Regions from separate parts of the Homo sapiens genome. Here region 2 is linked to region 1. Evidence: promoter capture Hi-C in human tissues and cell types (Jung and others, 2019). All regions are on one chromosome and are shown on one strand. Each heading gives the region's core, a stretch centred on a gene start or on the middle of the fragment in contact. The rest is flanking DNA. Distances are from core to core; before and after follow the strand shown.

Evidence for each region. Contacts are between HindIII fragments. The study calls those that stand out against the background at their distance.
Region 2: a fragment that was not itself captured here is called in contact with the fragment with the promoter of PTK7 in region 1 in 2 of the 25 tissues and cell types used here (adrenal gland and pancreas).

Annotation. Positions count from the first base shown.
Region 1 is chr6:43,072,009-43,079,906 of GRCh38, reverse strand. PTK7 (protein tyrosine kinase 7 (inactive)) reads right to left here and starts at 3,593. Exons shown (of 20, transcript NM_002821.5): 1 at 3,340-3,593. The coding sequence starts at 3,418. KLC4 (kinesin light chain 4) reads right to left here. Exons shown (of 16, transcript NM_201521.3): 12 at 7,652-7,760; 13 at 6,943-7,083; 14 at 6,569-6,684; 15 at 5,942-6,005; 16 at 4,814-5,285. The coding sequence ends at 5,235. It overlaps KLC4-AS1 (KLC4 antisense RNA 1), which reads left to right and starts at 3,677. Exons shown (of 2, transcript XR_002956347.1): 1 at 3,677-4,212; 2 at 4,640-5,574. RefSeq lists a silencer at 3,506-3,605 and an enhancer at 3,935-4,458. The HindIII fragment of the contact is 20,814 bases long and covers 1-7,898 here.
Region 2 is chr6:43,195,116-43,203,013 of GRCh38, reverse strand. It overlaps CUL9 (cullin 9), which reads right to left. Exons shown (of 41, transcript NM_015089.4): 10 at 6,749-6,945; 11 at 6,152-6,369; 12 at 4,159-4,405; 13 at 3,643-3,748; 14 at 2,858-3,085; 15 at 2,488-2,578; 16 at 2,180-2,351; 17 at 193-298. Among named protein-coding and RNA genes, the nearest start is that of CUL9, 17 kb to the right of the region's middle. RefSeq lists a silencer at 1,817-2,017. The HindIII fragment of the contact is 5,147 bases long and covers 1,548-6,694 here.

The DNA.
Region 1 (7,898 bases), core at 2,344-4,843:
TTTTTTTTTTGTACAGGTGGAGGTCTCATTGTGTTGCCAAGGCTGGTCTTGAGCCCCTGGGCTCAAGCGATCCTCCTCCCTCTGCCTCCCAAAGTGGTGGGATAACAGGCGTAAACCTGGCCCTTAGAGATGATTTAAAGTATACAGGAGAAGCTGGGCATAGTGGATCATGCCTGTAATCCTCATACTTTAGAGCACTGAGGCAGGAAGACTGCTTGAGCCCAGGAATTTGAGGCTTCAGTGAGCCAAGATTGTGCCACTGCACTCTAGCCTGGGTGATAGAGGAGACCCTGTCTCATAACAAAACAAAACAAAAGTATACAGGGAAGTTGTGTGTACGTTATATGTAAATACGACACCATTTTATATAAGAGACTTGAGCACCCTTGGATTTTTTTTTTTTTTTGAGACGGAGTCTCGCTCTGTCACCCAAGCTGGAGTGCAGTGGCACGATCTCGGCACGATCTCGCCCAAGCTGGAGTGCAGTGGCACGATCACTGCAAGCTCCACCTCCCGGGTTCAGGCCATTCTCCTGTCTCAGCCTCCCGAGTAGCTGGGACTACGGGCACCCGCCACCACGCCTGGCTAATTTTTTGTATTTTTAGTAGAGACAGGGTTTCACCGTGTTAGCCAGGATGGTCTCAATCTCCTGACCTCATGATCCGCCCGCCTCGGCCTCCCAAAGTGCTGGGATTACAGGCGTGAGCCACCAGGCCTGGCCGCACCCTTGGATTTTGTTATTCTCAGGGAGTCCTATTCCAATTCCCTGCAGATGCCAAGGAAGGACCATACTTTATCTCCATTGCTTGAGCTCTGTCCACCACTCAATGCTGCTCTGAACACCAGGAGTTTGAGTATATCATTTGACAAGTGACAAGAAGAGCACCCTTGCCCTGCCACCATACTTCCCAACAGCTGAGAAAAGCCATCACTAATAAAAGCAACTCCTAGGCCTGAATTACAGGCTGCAGAGCCTTGAGGAATCTGCAGACAGCCTATCCCAGAACATGACGACTCAATTTCCCCAAAGAAACAAGAGCCCGGAGGAAAGAAACCAGGGAGGGGGATGGGAATTGGAATGAGAAGTGACCACAGCTGACTGTACAAGAGGTTGGGGTTAAGAATCCATAGTTTCAAACATCAAGCCTCCTCCTCCTCCACCATATTTATTACAACAGCATCTCAAAGTTTGGAAAGTAACTCTGCCATTTATGGCATAATTACCCAGACTTTAAAATGGTCTAATCCACAAACCTAGCCAGCCTAGGTTCCTTACTCCAGCCTTATTAACAGTGGGATCTCACTACAACTCCAGTTAATTACACAATTAAACAATGAGATGCAAACATCTACTGTGATCTATTAAAAAACCGTTGCCCCTGAAGTCATGCGTCTGGGGGTGGGTTGAGTCCCAGGATTTCACTAGAAGACAGCAGGCGCCTCGGCCTCCACTGAAATTGTTTACAGCACATGGACAGGTTCCACAACAAGGCACATTTGGTGGAATTGATTTAAGGCTCTCATTAAAATGTTCCTTTGTTGAGCACAAGACATCCCCCCACCCCTGAGGAGACTACAGACCTCCTGTCCTAAGCCCTCAGCCTGCCCTAACTTCCCCCAACAGGATCCCCCACACACACGCGCGCACACACACTAAACACCAACCAGTCACCAGATTAAGTCAATTAACATCAGAGTCATCTTCTCATGGAAGGAATTTAGGAATTCAGCATTTGTTGAGCAAGAGCCCCATCTTCACCAGAAACTCCCCTTGACTCTAGTACCCTGAACAGCAGCAGTGAAGGCAGCCTCATTGGGCAGACCCACACACCAAAACCCAACCAGGACAGCCAGGGGGCCTGTGAGCTTGGGCTGCTCGCCCAGATGGCTGGGCCCCCATCCTGGCTGTGCAAAAAAACTTCCATACTTCCTCTGGGAGCAGATGTGGATTCTGCCACGAGCAATAACCACCACACACATCACAAGAAAAACGGGGCAACTCCAGAAACACCTCCTCCAAATCCCTGGAGATTGGTCTCTTTCCTGGGTTACATTTACCTCTCCTTTTACAACTGGGGGCAGGGGAGATGTTGATTCCACCAGCACCAAAACCCCTCCACAGCTGGCAGGCCAGAAAGATATTAGAAAGGCAATTCCTTACCCATGCCCTTCCCATTGCCACCTTCAAAGGAGATGGAAGGTGATCACCTAGGACAGGTCTCCTCGACAGAGCTCCCCAAGAGAAAGCTGCTTCGAGGACCACCAAGGAGTGTTGTGGAGGGTCGGGGGCTTTATTTCCAGTCCGGGCTATTTGGGATGTGCGGGTGGCTTGGTGCTTTCCTGTAAGGCACTTCAACACCTCAGTGATGACTCTTAGGTGTGACCAAGCCAGGAAATAAAAGCTGCGGGAGTTGGGGGGGCGGTGCTGTCTGCCCTGGTGATGAGGGCCACACCCTCGTTAAAATGCTAAGGCCCCCCCCCAAGAAAAGCCAGAATGAGCTCTTTTTGCCTTTCTTCCCTTAGAAATACTTCCTTTCCTCTGTGAGGACAGTCAGGATGGAAATCCAGGAAGGAGCAGAACAAACCCCGTCCGCACCTTTGCAGCCAGGCCATGCCCGATTTTGGCAGCGGCCTTCACACATTAGTCACCGCGACAGCCTGGGACCCTCGGATCCCCGGATTCGGCCCTGGCACGGAGTGGGCGCAGGGTTCCAGACCAGTAGCTAGAGGCCATGGATGGGGGCGGCCCCTAACTCTTCCCTTCTTCCGCCCTCACCCGCAGGGCCATCTGGGGTCTCAGCTTTGCCCAGGAACTCGGAGGAGGGAAGCCGGGAACGTCGGGTCGGCGTAGGTAACAAAGCTCCGCGCTTTGCGCGCCGCAGGTCTGTCCGGCATCGGGCCCCAAACCAGCAACTCTTACCTGGGCCGACCCTGCCGGGTGGGGTGGGGAATTCCTTTTTCTCCATCGCGCTCCCCACGGTGGGTGCGGATGGTCTTTTCTCCCCCGACAAGAAACTCCCCATCTGGGCCCGAGAGCCAGCAACTCTCGGCAGTTCTCGAGCAAACTCTCGGCTCAGACCAGAAAAACTCAGGGAGGCTGGAAATGCGTCCCCGCGGCGCGAGTGGGAGGGGTACCCTGACCGCGTCCCTGGAGGCTTCGCCAGCCTCCCGACACCCGGGCTCCTTGCGCCCTTCCGCCGCAAGCCTGCACCCCCAGCGAGCCTCTCCACTACTCCAGGGCCGTTCCAGCCGCCCAAACCCACCGCCCCGGGCGCAGCCTTTTGCCCACGGGACTCCCGCGCTTCCCAAGCTCTGTGCCCCCAACTCTCGGGTACTCACCGCCCAGCAGCGGCAGCAGCAGGACGCTGAGCAGAGGCAACCGGCGGGGTCTGGCCGGGGATCCCCGCGCAGCTCCCATCGCGGCGGGCTCAGGAAAAGGAGCTGAGGGCGCACGGCGGGCGCGCAGACTGCGCTCCGCGGCGGGCACAGGAGGCGGAGCGCACCGGAGCGCGGGCGCCGCAGCAGCAGCCGCAGCCGGAGCCCGACCCCGAGGCGTCCCGAGGCGTCCCGAGCCGGAGCCGCGCGCGCCCAGTACCTCCGAGTCCCCGCGCGCCGCCGCCGCCGCCGCCAAGCCCCGCCCCACGACGCCCCCTCCCCTCCGGCCCCCGCACGGCGCCCCGCCCCCTCGACGCCCCCTCCTCGCCGAGGCGGGGAGGAGCTCAGTAGGGGGAGGGGTCTGGAGAGGGATGGAGAATAGAGAGAGCAAGGCTCAGGGAAGTGCAGGGGACCTGAGTATTTGCTGTACCCACCACCGACTCTGCAGGGATCCGGGAGAACCTAAGTGACTTGTGCGATTCCGTGGACCCTGGGGAGAATGGTCCATTCTGGGCATACCTGGAGGCTCTGGCCAACAGTTCCCCCAGAATTCTCCAGGTGGGGGCAGGGGAAGAGGCGGGCCCCGCCAACTCTTCAGCAACCCAAAATCTTAACGGCAGACCCAGAACAGCAGGGTGTCCTTAATGTCCCCAAGTAACCTGAAGATGCTGTGTAGCCCGGAGAGGGGCTGAAGTGTGCATGACTGGGGTCTGGTTTGGCTGTAGACCAATCTGAACCCAAAGGTAGAAACACGCTGGGCTCTGAAAGCCAGGCTGAAGTCTGCTAACTGACAAATTCATCCCAAGTCCATCTCCAGGCAGTCTGGGCTGTGTCAGGGTATGGCCAAGTCTCCAGCTGTGGGGAGGCCCAGCACAACCCTTGTTCCAGGCACCCCCACCCCCAGCGCCACCACCCCCACATTCTTTCTTTGTTGTGAAAGCAGCAAGGGGTGTAGGAGGCGGGTCAGGAGGAGTCAAGCTTTAGAAGATGGGCCCCAGCTGCTGCTCAGGCCTCCAAGATATGCTGAGAGGGGATGGATAGTGCCTTGTCTCCCCTCTGGTTCCGGAGGGCCCCCCAGGCCTGTTTAGACCTCCCTTCCCCCAAGCAGCTGGGAGGAGGAATGGCAGCCACAGAGGGCCTCACAGCCAGGAGAAGTGGCGCCAGGACTCCAGGGTCCTGCCACATGGCCACCACATGTCCCTGACAACCCAGTCCACAGCACCTTCTCCTTGGGTTGTGAGCCTCCTTCTTCCCCATCCCCCAGATGCCTTCCTACAGGCCCTGCTGGAGATGATACAAACAACGGGAGGAAGAGAGGAGAGATCCAAGAATCAACACTCCTCCTGCTGCTCCATCCATCACTGCCCCTCACCTTCTGTGAAGGGCCCCAACACAAGCCCTGCTTCATACCCTCTTCAATCAGGACTCAAGTCACAGAAAGGTTACCTGATTCTTTTATTTAAGAAAAGTGAAATACATGGACCTGAAGTGAGACAGCAGAGGGAGGGAGTAAGAGCGGCCAGGGCAAGGCAGCTTGGCTGGCCAGCCCCCAACCCTCTGACTGAAAAGCCAGCAGCAGGCTGCATCTCTGAGGGCCATACCTGCTTTGTACCCACCTTGGGGCCTCAGAGCTAGCTACTCTAGAGGACCACAGGGTGCAGAGAGGGTGTCCTGAGGGTCCTTCCTAAGAGGGATTCCTGAGGAGGGAGCTGAGACCCTAAGGGCAGCAGCAATCTTCTGGTTAAACTGCTCCCCTTCACTGTCCCACCTAGGGGTGGGGAAGAGCCAGGAGCAATGGGGAATGCTGTGAGGGCTGTGGGGGTGGGGGGACCCAGCAGACCTGGGGGCCGGGTTGAATGTCAGCTGCTTGAAGAGAGGTCCATGGTGCTGGCACTGAGGCCCCGGGAGACCTGAAACAGACAACACTACCCCATCAGCTCAGGGACCTCGGCCTCCCAAAGACTGGCTCCTAGAGTCCATCCATCCCATGGTCACAGTGTATCTCTGGACCTAGGATCACATCTGTCTCTGGACCAGTCTATCTCTGGACCTGGGACTTTGTTTAGCCTCTGCTAGGGTTTTCCAGAAGGCCACAATCTGGTGGAGAAGCTACCTGGAAGAACCACATGAATACTGGCATATACTTGTGTGTTGATACAAGAAGTCATTTGCCATTAAAATATCACTAGTGTTTTCTCAGATGGGGATTATTTAATACTTTTCTTTTTCCATTCTCATCTACTACTAAGGCGGCTGCAGGATGAAAAAATAATTCGTATCTCCAAATAATTCTTAAATTATTCATAATTCCAAAGTACCAGTTTACAGAATATTCCTATTTCCCTCCTTATTAACTTATTTGCTACTATGTCTGGCCTGAAACTGTCCCTTGGTGGTCAGCACTCACCACAAGCTATCTGCCTGATTCCTTAATGACTGCAATCCCCTGGCTCATCTTCATCCCAGATGACTCCTCTCCCTTCCCTCTTCCCTTACTCCACTGGGCTTGCTCACTGGCTGTCCTTTTTTCCTCACCCACCAATATGCTCACAAGCACTGCTCTCACCTGGAGGGGTGCTGCACTAGGTTGGTTCAGATAGTTCAAGGAGGCTGCTCGCTTCATGTTGCTGCTACAATGGAAAACGGAAGAATTGAGGCCTCCTCTCTTCCTCCTGAGTGGCCTTAAGGCTGTGGGCCTCTTGAGCACTGCCACACTGGGGCACCCATTCTACCCAAACTCTCTCTCCATGGCTGGCCCGTTGACTTCCTCCCTGTTTCTCTCCGAGATACTTCTCCAGAGATCAGGAGCCAAGAGGAGTTGGAGGCAAGGGCTTACTTTACTTGCCTGCTTTACCATATCTTTTTTTTTTTTCTTTTTTTTTTTGAGACGGAGTCTCGCTGTTGTCGCCTGGGCTGGAGTGCAATGGCATGATCTTGGCTCCCTGCAACCTCTGCCTCCTGGGTTCCAGCAATTCTCCTGCCTCAGCCTCCCAAGTAGCTGAGATTACAGGCACCTGCCACCACACCCGACTAATTTTTGTATTTTTAGGAGAGAGTTTCACCTTGTTGGCCAGGCTGGTCTCAAACTCCTGACCTCAGGTGATCCACCCGCCTCGGCCTCCCAAAGTGCTGGGATTACAGGCGTGAGCCACTGCACCCGGCCACTTTACTGTATCTTGACTTCCATGTATACCTGGAGGGCCGAGGCTCAGTCCCCTGGAGCTTCCTCACCAAGAGTTCACTGCTTCTGCGGAGCACATCCCGGATCTTGCCAAGAGAGCCACTCCTCTGCAGGGTCCCACTGCCATCCTGGCAGAAAGGAGTGAGCAATGAAAGCTACAAGGATCCCACACAGATGGGTTTCTGAGTCTACTCCTAGCATTTATTCTGCACACATCCCCCACCCCCAAGGCCCAGTGACTGGAAATAAAAGTCCTGTCAAAAACTGGCTCCCAGAGATACCCCTGAAGGAATACACTACCTAGACTGGGACAGCATGGCCAAGAGCCTCTCACCACCACCAGCAGGAGTGGGCAGGAGAGATGAAAAGGCAATGATCAGACTTACCCCGGACCACTCCACAGCCACAGAAGCATCTTCACCTCCCTCGAATTTCACACTGTCTCCAGGGCCCTCCTGGGAGGTCCTTCTACCATCACTCTCCCCAAGCAGCTCTGCCACCTTCGTCTGGCTGATAGGGTCAGTGCCCTGGAAGGAAAAGGAAGGACCTGGGACTTCCTACTCCTTAACTCCTCAGGATGGGGCTTTCAAATTTTTTTCACCATCAGCCACTGGAAGGAAAACATTTTTCCTTGTGATGTCTCAGTTTATACCTACTGGAATAATACTTACCTTTTCTATTTGCAATGCATTGCTATATATAGATCTGTATATATTTTTATCCCCATGGCCCATACTGAATTGATTTCACAACCTACTATTGAGACCCACAATCTAAGAAATTCTTGATTTAGGCTCTCCCCAACCTCACTCCTCTCACCCATACCACCCAGGTCCCCTCCTTATGAAAGGGCAGGGTTTCTCCTTCATATCCCCATTTAGTGAATCTTGAAACTAGAGTCCTGACCACAAAATGCAGGTGGGGGGTAAGAACATGCTTAAAAACAACCACAATCACAACACTGCCTCACTTTCCTCTCCCTCCTGGCTTCATCAGCCTTTCCGCTTATTCTTAGGAGACTCCCAAGAAACCTCGGCACTCTCTCATCCCCAGGGCCCTTCCCTCTAGGACCTCCTTCCCCTCTGGGCTTCTGACCTGTCTCCGGGACCGCAGGGCACATTCCTCCAGGGTCTCAGCAGCCTCCAGCTTTCCCTGGCGCCTATACAGAGCTCCCAGGTTTCTCAGAGTAGTGTTCACTGTGGGGCTGTGGTGAGAAAGAGACCAGAGAAGGAAGAGAGAATGAGTTCAGAAAACAAAACATTTGTCTTCCAAGCAAGACAAGAGGAAAAAAAATAAGAAAATAGGAGAGGGAACAGAGCTAAAGCTGAGGGAAAGTCTACGG
Region 2 (7,898 bases), core at 2,872-5,371, 120 kb before region 1:
CCTTCACTTCTCCCGCAGAGCCTAGGGATGGACGTGGCTCTGCATCCCTAATCCCACTCTCACTGCTTACAAGGCAACACCTTCCCAAGGGGAAGGGATGTCACCATTCCCCAGGGACTAGGTCCTTCCCACAGGCACTGGGACAAAAAGAAGGATGTGGAGCAAGGTGAAGGTGGGCACAAGGGTCCCCACCGTGTTGAGCTCAGTGCCGATGCAGCTGGTGCTGTCACCCCCAAACACCACCACCCTGGCTGGCATGTAGCTTGAGTCCTCACTGGCCACCAGCAAAGTGAGCTGCCTGGGAAAGAAGAAAGGAAACAGTCAAAGCTGGGCCTCTGGACGTGGTGGCTCACATCTGTAATCCCAACACTTTGGGAGGCTGAGGTGGGAGGATCGCTTGAGGCTAGTTTAAGATCAACCTGGGCAACACTGCAAGACCCCACCTCTACGAAATAAAAATCAAAAGAAGGAAATAAAAAGGCCAGAGCCCTGGTTTCAGTTCAAAACTATTTCAAGCCACCACTTCTTTCTCAGGCTCCTGTTCCTCTGCTGGCTCCTGAGGCAGCTGTCCCCACTAGACCCTCTGCTCTTCCCTCTATATTCACCCAAAGTGACTTAATTTAAACCCACAGTTTCAACTGAAAATTAATACACAGAGGACTCCAAATACACATCTCTATCCCAGACCACTCTCCTGAGCTTTCATGCTGTGTCCCCAACAGGTATTTCCATGTCATGTCCCACAGGCACCTCAGAGTCATCATGCCCAAATGAAATGATCATCTGTCCACATAAACCTGTCCCGCTTCCTGTTTCTCTCCTGGGAAATAAAACTTCCGTGCACTCAGTACTCAACTAGAATACTGTCACTGAGGCCTTCACCTTCTCATGGCTTCCCTCACCCAAAGGCAAGTCTTGTGGACTCCATCTCTGAGGATTTCCCAGTCAGTTCCCACTCCTGCTGTCTAACTGAACACATGGATCCTTTCTCTACTAGAGCACTGCATACACCTTCCACCTCCTTCTTCTACCTCCAGCGCAAACTCCCATAGTTGCCAGAGTGAGCTTTCTCAATAAAAAATCTAGTTTTCTCTCCTCCCTTCTTAAAATCTTCCAATGGCTCTCCCAACTTTTGGAATAAAGTTCAAACTGCTTAGCTCACAAAACATTTTGTGATCTGCCTTTGCCTACTTTTCTGGCCTGTATCTTCCGCCACTTAGACATACACAGCTTTCGGCCGGGCGCAGTGGTTCACGCCTGTAATCCCAGCACTTTGGGAGGCCAAGGCGGGCGGATCACGAGGTCAGGAGATCGAGACCATCCTGACTAACACGGTGAAACCCCGTCTCTACTAAAAATACAAAAAATTAGCCAGGCGTGGTGGCAGGCGCCTGTAGTCCCAGCTACTCGGGAGGCTGAGACAGGAGAATGGGGTGAACCCGGGAGGCAGAAGTTGCAGTGAGCTGAGATCACACCACTGTACTCCAGCCTGGGCGGCAGAGCGAGACTCCATCTCAAAAAATATAAAAAAATAAAAATAAAGATATACACAGCTTTCAATTGTAACCAAATATGATGACTTAAAGTCCCTCCAAATATACTTTCTTACTTCCATTTTGCACATATGCTGTCCTTATGCCTAGAATATTGCCCCCTCTTTATCTACCTAATTTCAATGTCAAAACCCAGCTCAGTCACCCCCTCCTTCCAGAAGGAAGTCTGCTCTCATGCCTGTCAGTCTCAGGTCCACATGTGGACCACAATGCTTTTTCTTACTCTGTGCTCTTACTTGATTTTCTAGTGTAGCTCCCCAGCTGGAATGTAGGTACCATATCTTATTGTCCTTCTATTTCGAGACCCTTGCACAGTGCCTGACACAAATGCCTGGCATTAAGCAAATGCCCAAAGGAGAAATGGATAAGTGAGCTGTTTATCTCCCTCAACACTAAGCACAGGGCAGTGCCATCTGTACCTGTTGGAGTACAGATCACCAGACTCTGGGAGTGAGGGGATGTCTATACTCAGCAAAGGCAGGTCAATGTGTCTATGTGTTCACTGCACAAAATAGGTTTGAGTGTGTCCCTCAGGCATTGGGGTTATAGCTGGGGTTGTGTGTATCTGGGTGCTTTGGGGAAGTATCCTGGGGCACAGCAGAACATTCATATATGTGTGTTCACACCTAACAAGAACACCACGGTGCATGTGCAGGGTGATGTAGTGGGAGCCGGTGCTGCCGTTGGACTCCCAGTAGGTCTTGGGGTTGTGGTCCGTCAGCTTGCTGGCTCGGTGCGGGTTGGAGGACACCTCCACCTTCTCCCAGCACTTGTCCTCCTTCACTTCCACACTGGAGCCTGGGGGCAAGTGGGAAGGGGTGGCAGTCACAGCTAGGTTAGTTGAGAGGAAAAAGGAAAAGGTCTAAGGAGCAGGAAGGGAAGGGGAGAACAGACACTGGATGGGAGCCAGGAGAAAGCAGATGAGGGCACTAACCCTGGCAGAGATGCCTGAGGAACACATCAAAGAAGGGGATATTGATGGGTTGGTGGGTTCGTCTGTGGTCTTCGATCTGGCCCAGCACCATCTGCAGCCGGAACATCAGGGAGAATGAGGAAGAGGAGAGGGAGGAACACAGAGAAATGCCCAGAAACAGGTAGAGAGAAAAAGTCAAGGGTCAACGGTATACTCAACTCCTCTCTCCCCACATTTTGACAGAACCATGTGGAGTCAAGGTTAGGAAACAAGTGCCCCAGATTTGCTACAACCTGTGCCAAACAGGGATACCAAAGAGGAACACAGTGAATCCCCTTCTCCTGCTTCTGACTTGCATTCTCTCAGCTGCATACCCACAGCCGCTCCTCACCTGAATGCAGCCGGCCAGGATGCTGGAGGTGAGGTTGCTATAGAGCTGTGCGTACTTCTCACACTCTGTCACCAGGTCCCGAAGCTCACAGCCCAGCAGCAGCTGAGCTGAGTGCTTGTCCAGGACTTTGGAGAGGATCTCTTTTGCTCCCAGGCAGCAGAGCACCACAGCATAGTCCTTATGCATCGAGGCCAGGCGATGTAGGAAGCAGGTCAGCTCCTGAACAATCTGAGCCCAGAGCCACATAGATTAATTTACAGGAAACAAGAGGTAGGACATGTAAGGATTGAGGAGAGGGTTCAGTAAAGGAAGTGTCGTGGCTGAGATTGTGGAGACATGCCAACGCCCAGGGAAACAAGAGTACCAAATTCAGGGTGGAGTAAAATAGAGGAGTGCTGGGACTCCAGAGTGAGTTGGCAGAACAGAGCTTGGGCACAGCTTTCCAGGCTGCTTCCTGCCCAGGCCAAGCTATGTTAACCCTGGTGCCTGAGCCTTGCTCTCCAATGCACAAACCCGGAAGGGAGGACAGCTGTCTGGATTGGTGAATGTGGGCTTCTCCTTAGTCCAGAATCTAAACTCCAAATCTAAAATCATCTAAAAGGTTTATACTTCAAAGATTCCAGTTCTGGAGATTCTTAGATTACATTACCCTTCCTCCTCCTACACCCATCCCAGTGCCCCAAGATCCATTCAGAAAGGCTCTGCTGTGCCCTCCAGAGCCTCACAAGGAGTTGGTGCCCCAGATGCTGCCCTTCCCTCTCTTCTCCTTGCCAGGGTTCTGGTACCTCGGAGTCACTGCTAGGGCCACTCAGGCAGTTGAGGCAGGGCTCCAAGACCTCGTGCCAGGGGAGGACCATTGCCTCAGGGAAATCCAGCAGTCGGGTTATGACCCTGGTGAGGGGGTAGAAACGAGTGAAGTCAGGCCAGGCACAGTGGCTCATGCCTGTAATCCCAGCACTTTGGGAGGCCGAAGTGGGCGGATCACCTGAGGTCGGGAGTTCGAGACCAGCCTGACCAAAATGGAGAAACCCCATCTCTACTAAAAATACAAAATTAGCTGGGCATGGTGGCACATGCCTGCAATCCCAGCTACTCGGGAGGCTGAGGCAGGAGAACCACTTGAACCTGGGAGGTAGAGGTTGCAGTGAGCTGAGATCGTGCCATTGCACTCCAGCCTGGGCAACAAGAGTGAAACTCCAACTCAAAAAAAAAAAAAAGAAAACAGAAAAGAAACAAGTGAAGTCCCTGAAGTCTGCCAGTTTCCCTCGTCCCAATGCATGGTGCCTCAACAGGCCCCTCACCTCAGCACAGACAGCAGCAGAGTCTTGTTGGGCCCCGGAGCATCCAGAGTCCGCAGCAACAGGAGGAAAGGCTGGGTCTCCTGCTGGAGGCGCTTGAGGAGGGGCCTCACGGCACCTCCGGGGCTGCCCTCACGGCACAGCACACGCTCCAAGTCCAGGAGTAGTTCTGCAGATGGGCCCCCAACCAGGGATCGAATCAGTAGCTCAGGGGACCCATCCTGACCCTGGATGATGGGGGTCTCTAGTGCTGCAGCCAGACACACCAGAGGGAAAAATGTGGATGAAGAGTCTTACCAGTTTGTCAAACTGAGAACTGGGAAGGTCCAGAAAATCACCCCAAAATTTTCCTTCTATATTGAGGATGTCTATAGTTTTTAACCAAACTATGAGGGGTTTTCTTTCCTGACCCCAAATACAAACCTAATCAGATTTGAAAAAAAAACCTAGTATAGCAAACACTGTCGAGTTAAACACAAGACATTTTAAATCTCTTATAGTCCTATTATTAAATGTTAGTTATAGTAAATATTAACTATGATGATTATATCCCTGTACTACCTGCATGGTGGCTTTAGGTACACAGACTAAAAGATACATACATATTTCCTATTTTGTAGGAATACACAGAGCGCTGTCACCCAGGCTGGAGTGCAGTGGCATGATCTTGGCTCACTGTGACCTCCAACTCCTGGGCTCAAGTGATTCTCCTGCCTCAGCCTCCCAAGTAGCTGGGATTACAAGCACCTACCACCGTGCCCGGCTAATTTTTGTATTTTTAGTAAAGATGCGGTTTCACCATGTTGGCCGGGCTGGTCTCAAACTGCTGACCTCAAGTGATCTGCCTGCCTCAGCCTCCCAAAGTGCTGGGATTAAAGGCATGAGCTATTGCACCTGGCCACGTATTTCCTATTTCAATATCCCTCCACACTTCTAGGTTTTCACTTGTTTTTCAATCACAAAGGGTTTCTTCCCCAGTATCAATATCTAATGTTTCCAGGCACAAGTGTTCTGTACCATAAATTATAATTTCTCTTAAGAAGGCCTCCCTATTCTGTGAAGAGAAAGTTAAGCTTAGGCCAGGCACAGTGGCTCACGCCTCTAATCCCAGCACTTTGGGAGGCCAAGGCGGTCAGATCACGAGGTCAGGAGTTCAAAACCGGCCTGACCAACATGGTGAAACCCTGTCTCTACTAAATATACAAAAATTAGCTGGGTGTGGTGGTGCGCACCTGTAATCCCAGCTACTCAGGAGGCTGAGGCAGGAGAATTCCTTGAACCCGGGAGGCGGAGCTTGCAGTGAGCAGAGATCGTGCAACTGCATTCCAGCCTGGGCGACAGAGTGAGACTCCACCTCCAAAAAAAAACCAGTTAAGCTTAAAACAAAAAAAGAGAAAGGCTTCCCTAGATGTCATTTCAATGAGTCTTCTACTGTCCAATAATACTGGGCCAAACCTAGCCCAGATGGATATGAATCCACATATGTTTAAAGCCATTCAAGAAGGCAATTTCCAGCCAGGTGCAGTGGCTCACACCTGCAATCCCAGCACTTTGGGAGGCCGAGGCAGTGGATCTCCTGAGGTCAGGAGTTCCAGATCAGCCTGGCCAACATGGTGAAACCCTGTCTCTACTAAAAATACAAAAATTAGCCCGCTGTGGTGGCAGGTGCCTATAATCCCAGCTACACAGGAGGCTGAGGCATGAGAATTGCTTGAACCCAGGAAGCAGAGGTTACAGTGAGTCGAGATCGTGCCACTGCACTCTAGCCTGGGAAACAAGAGCAAAACTCCATCTCAAAAAAAAAAAAATGCAATTTCCTTGCACATATTCCACAGTCTCCCTCTTCTTGGTCGGGAAGTTCTACTTAAGACCTAACTTGAGCACAATGCTTGCTCATTTCCTGAAGTTTCCTTGTATCTTTCCAGTAAGGAGCTGATATGTAAACCTGGCTGGCACTGTGTGATTCCTCTGCAAAACCACCCCTCCACAATGGTACCTGCACGCTCAGGGCTGCCCGGCGGCTCTGAGTAGCGATTGAGAAGCATCATGAGGATGGTGCGTGTGGTAGGCATAGGTTCTGTTCTTGGTGCTATCCCTGAGTGCCTAAACAACGTGTCTCTCAGCTCTTGGGTTATAATCTGGTCTCCCAGAGTGTGGTGGTTGCACAAAAGTAGGTTGAGCAGGAGTAAGCCATTTCTCGCTGCAGAAGAGCACCTGGGAGGAGGGAGGTGACCAGGAAGAAACTGAGAGACCATGAATGCAATGGAAGCAGCAAAGCAAGCATAGAAGGCCGGGCAGCTAGGGAGCAAAGGGCTCCAGTGGGCCCTCTGAGCCAGGACATCTGATCCCCTGACCTTGGGCCACTCCTCCCAAACCCATAAAGGGAAGTCAGTGTGTCTCTGCCCTCTCTGGGAATCTCCCTATCCCCAATCCACTTGGGTTCTCCTCCAACAACAGTTGGCAGCGCCACCAATGCTTAATCCGGAGGTGACAGCGTGAGGGGAATTTCTGTGGAGTACATGAGCCTGGAGCACAGGAGTAGCAGGGTTTGGGACTAAGCAGGAGCCTGGAGTTGGGAAGGTAATGCCCTGACCCCTCAGTATTCAGCATCAGGATCACGGCTGCAGGGACAGTGAGGAGCAGGCTCTCAGAGCCCGGGCGTGTGGCTGAGTCGATGCTGGCGAAGATCTCTCTGGTCATCTGAGCATCAAACAAAGAGTGGATAGAATCTCGGCCAGTAACAAAAGTGGGGATCTCCGAGGAGCTGGCGACGGCCAGCATCTTCAGTGCCTGTGAGGGGGATGTGAAAGCAGAGTGAGGAGGGGGCAGAGTCACCATGAGGAAAGGTAGGCCTCATTCTAGACCTCAAACTTTGGGGCAGCTGAGCTGTTTGCAGATAGGTAGAGTAGGAGACAGAAATGGAAGAGGTAGTGATGGGACATCAAATACTACAAAGAGAGGGAAGGAGGGAGGGAGGAAGGAAAAGAAAAAAGGAAAGAAACTAAACAACAACAAAAAACTCTGAGACTGGATGGTAAAATCAGCCTTCCACTCCTCTTGGCCTCCAGGCTCGCAGCACCAAGGCTACCAGAGTGGGACAGCCGCCCCTCCTGTATCTTCCCTTCAGGATGGTGCCCCTCGCAGCATCTAGTTGTCTTCAGGGGCTTCTTACAGTTGTCTCCCATCTCACTTGCACTCCTTCCTTTGCAAAATCTCTCTTCCCTTGAGTTCCATGACTTCACATCCTCCTGGCTTTTCTCCTACCTCTCTGGTGTTCCTTTGCCCCAAGGAACTAAGGTTCCTTGTCCCCTTTCTCTGGACTCTGCACTCACCCACACTGAGGCAACCAGGTCCATTCACATTGCTTCAATTACCACCTATACACCAAGTCTCCAAAACCTGTGTCTCCTGGCCTTAGCCAGCATCCAGCCCTTCTAGATAAGACTTCTTGGTTGTCTCACAGGCAGTGGTTGGCATTATAGGAAAAATAATTGTAATGTGCAAACCTGTTTGCTGGGACTATAGAGAAAAATTAAATTAAAATAGACACTATACAATCAGAGTGGAGAATGTCTCTCCTGGTAAAAGGGTTGATTCTCTACAAGAAACCCATGAGAGATGGACTGGGCTAGAAATAATTCTCAGGACAATGCCTCTTGTAAGGCCTGGACCCTCCAAGCAACTTCTACTTCTCAATGAAGCTTTCTCCCTGTAGTTACACCACCCTCCCCTAGTTAGCTGAG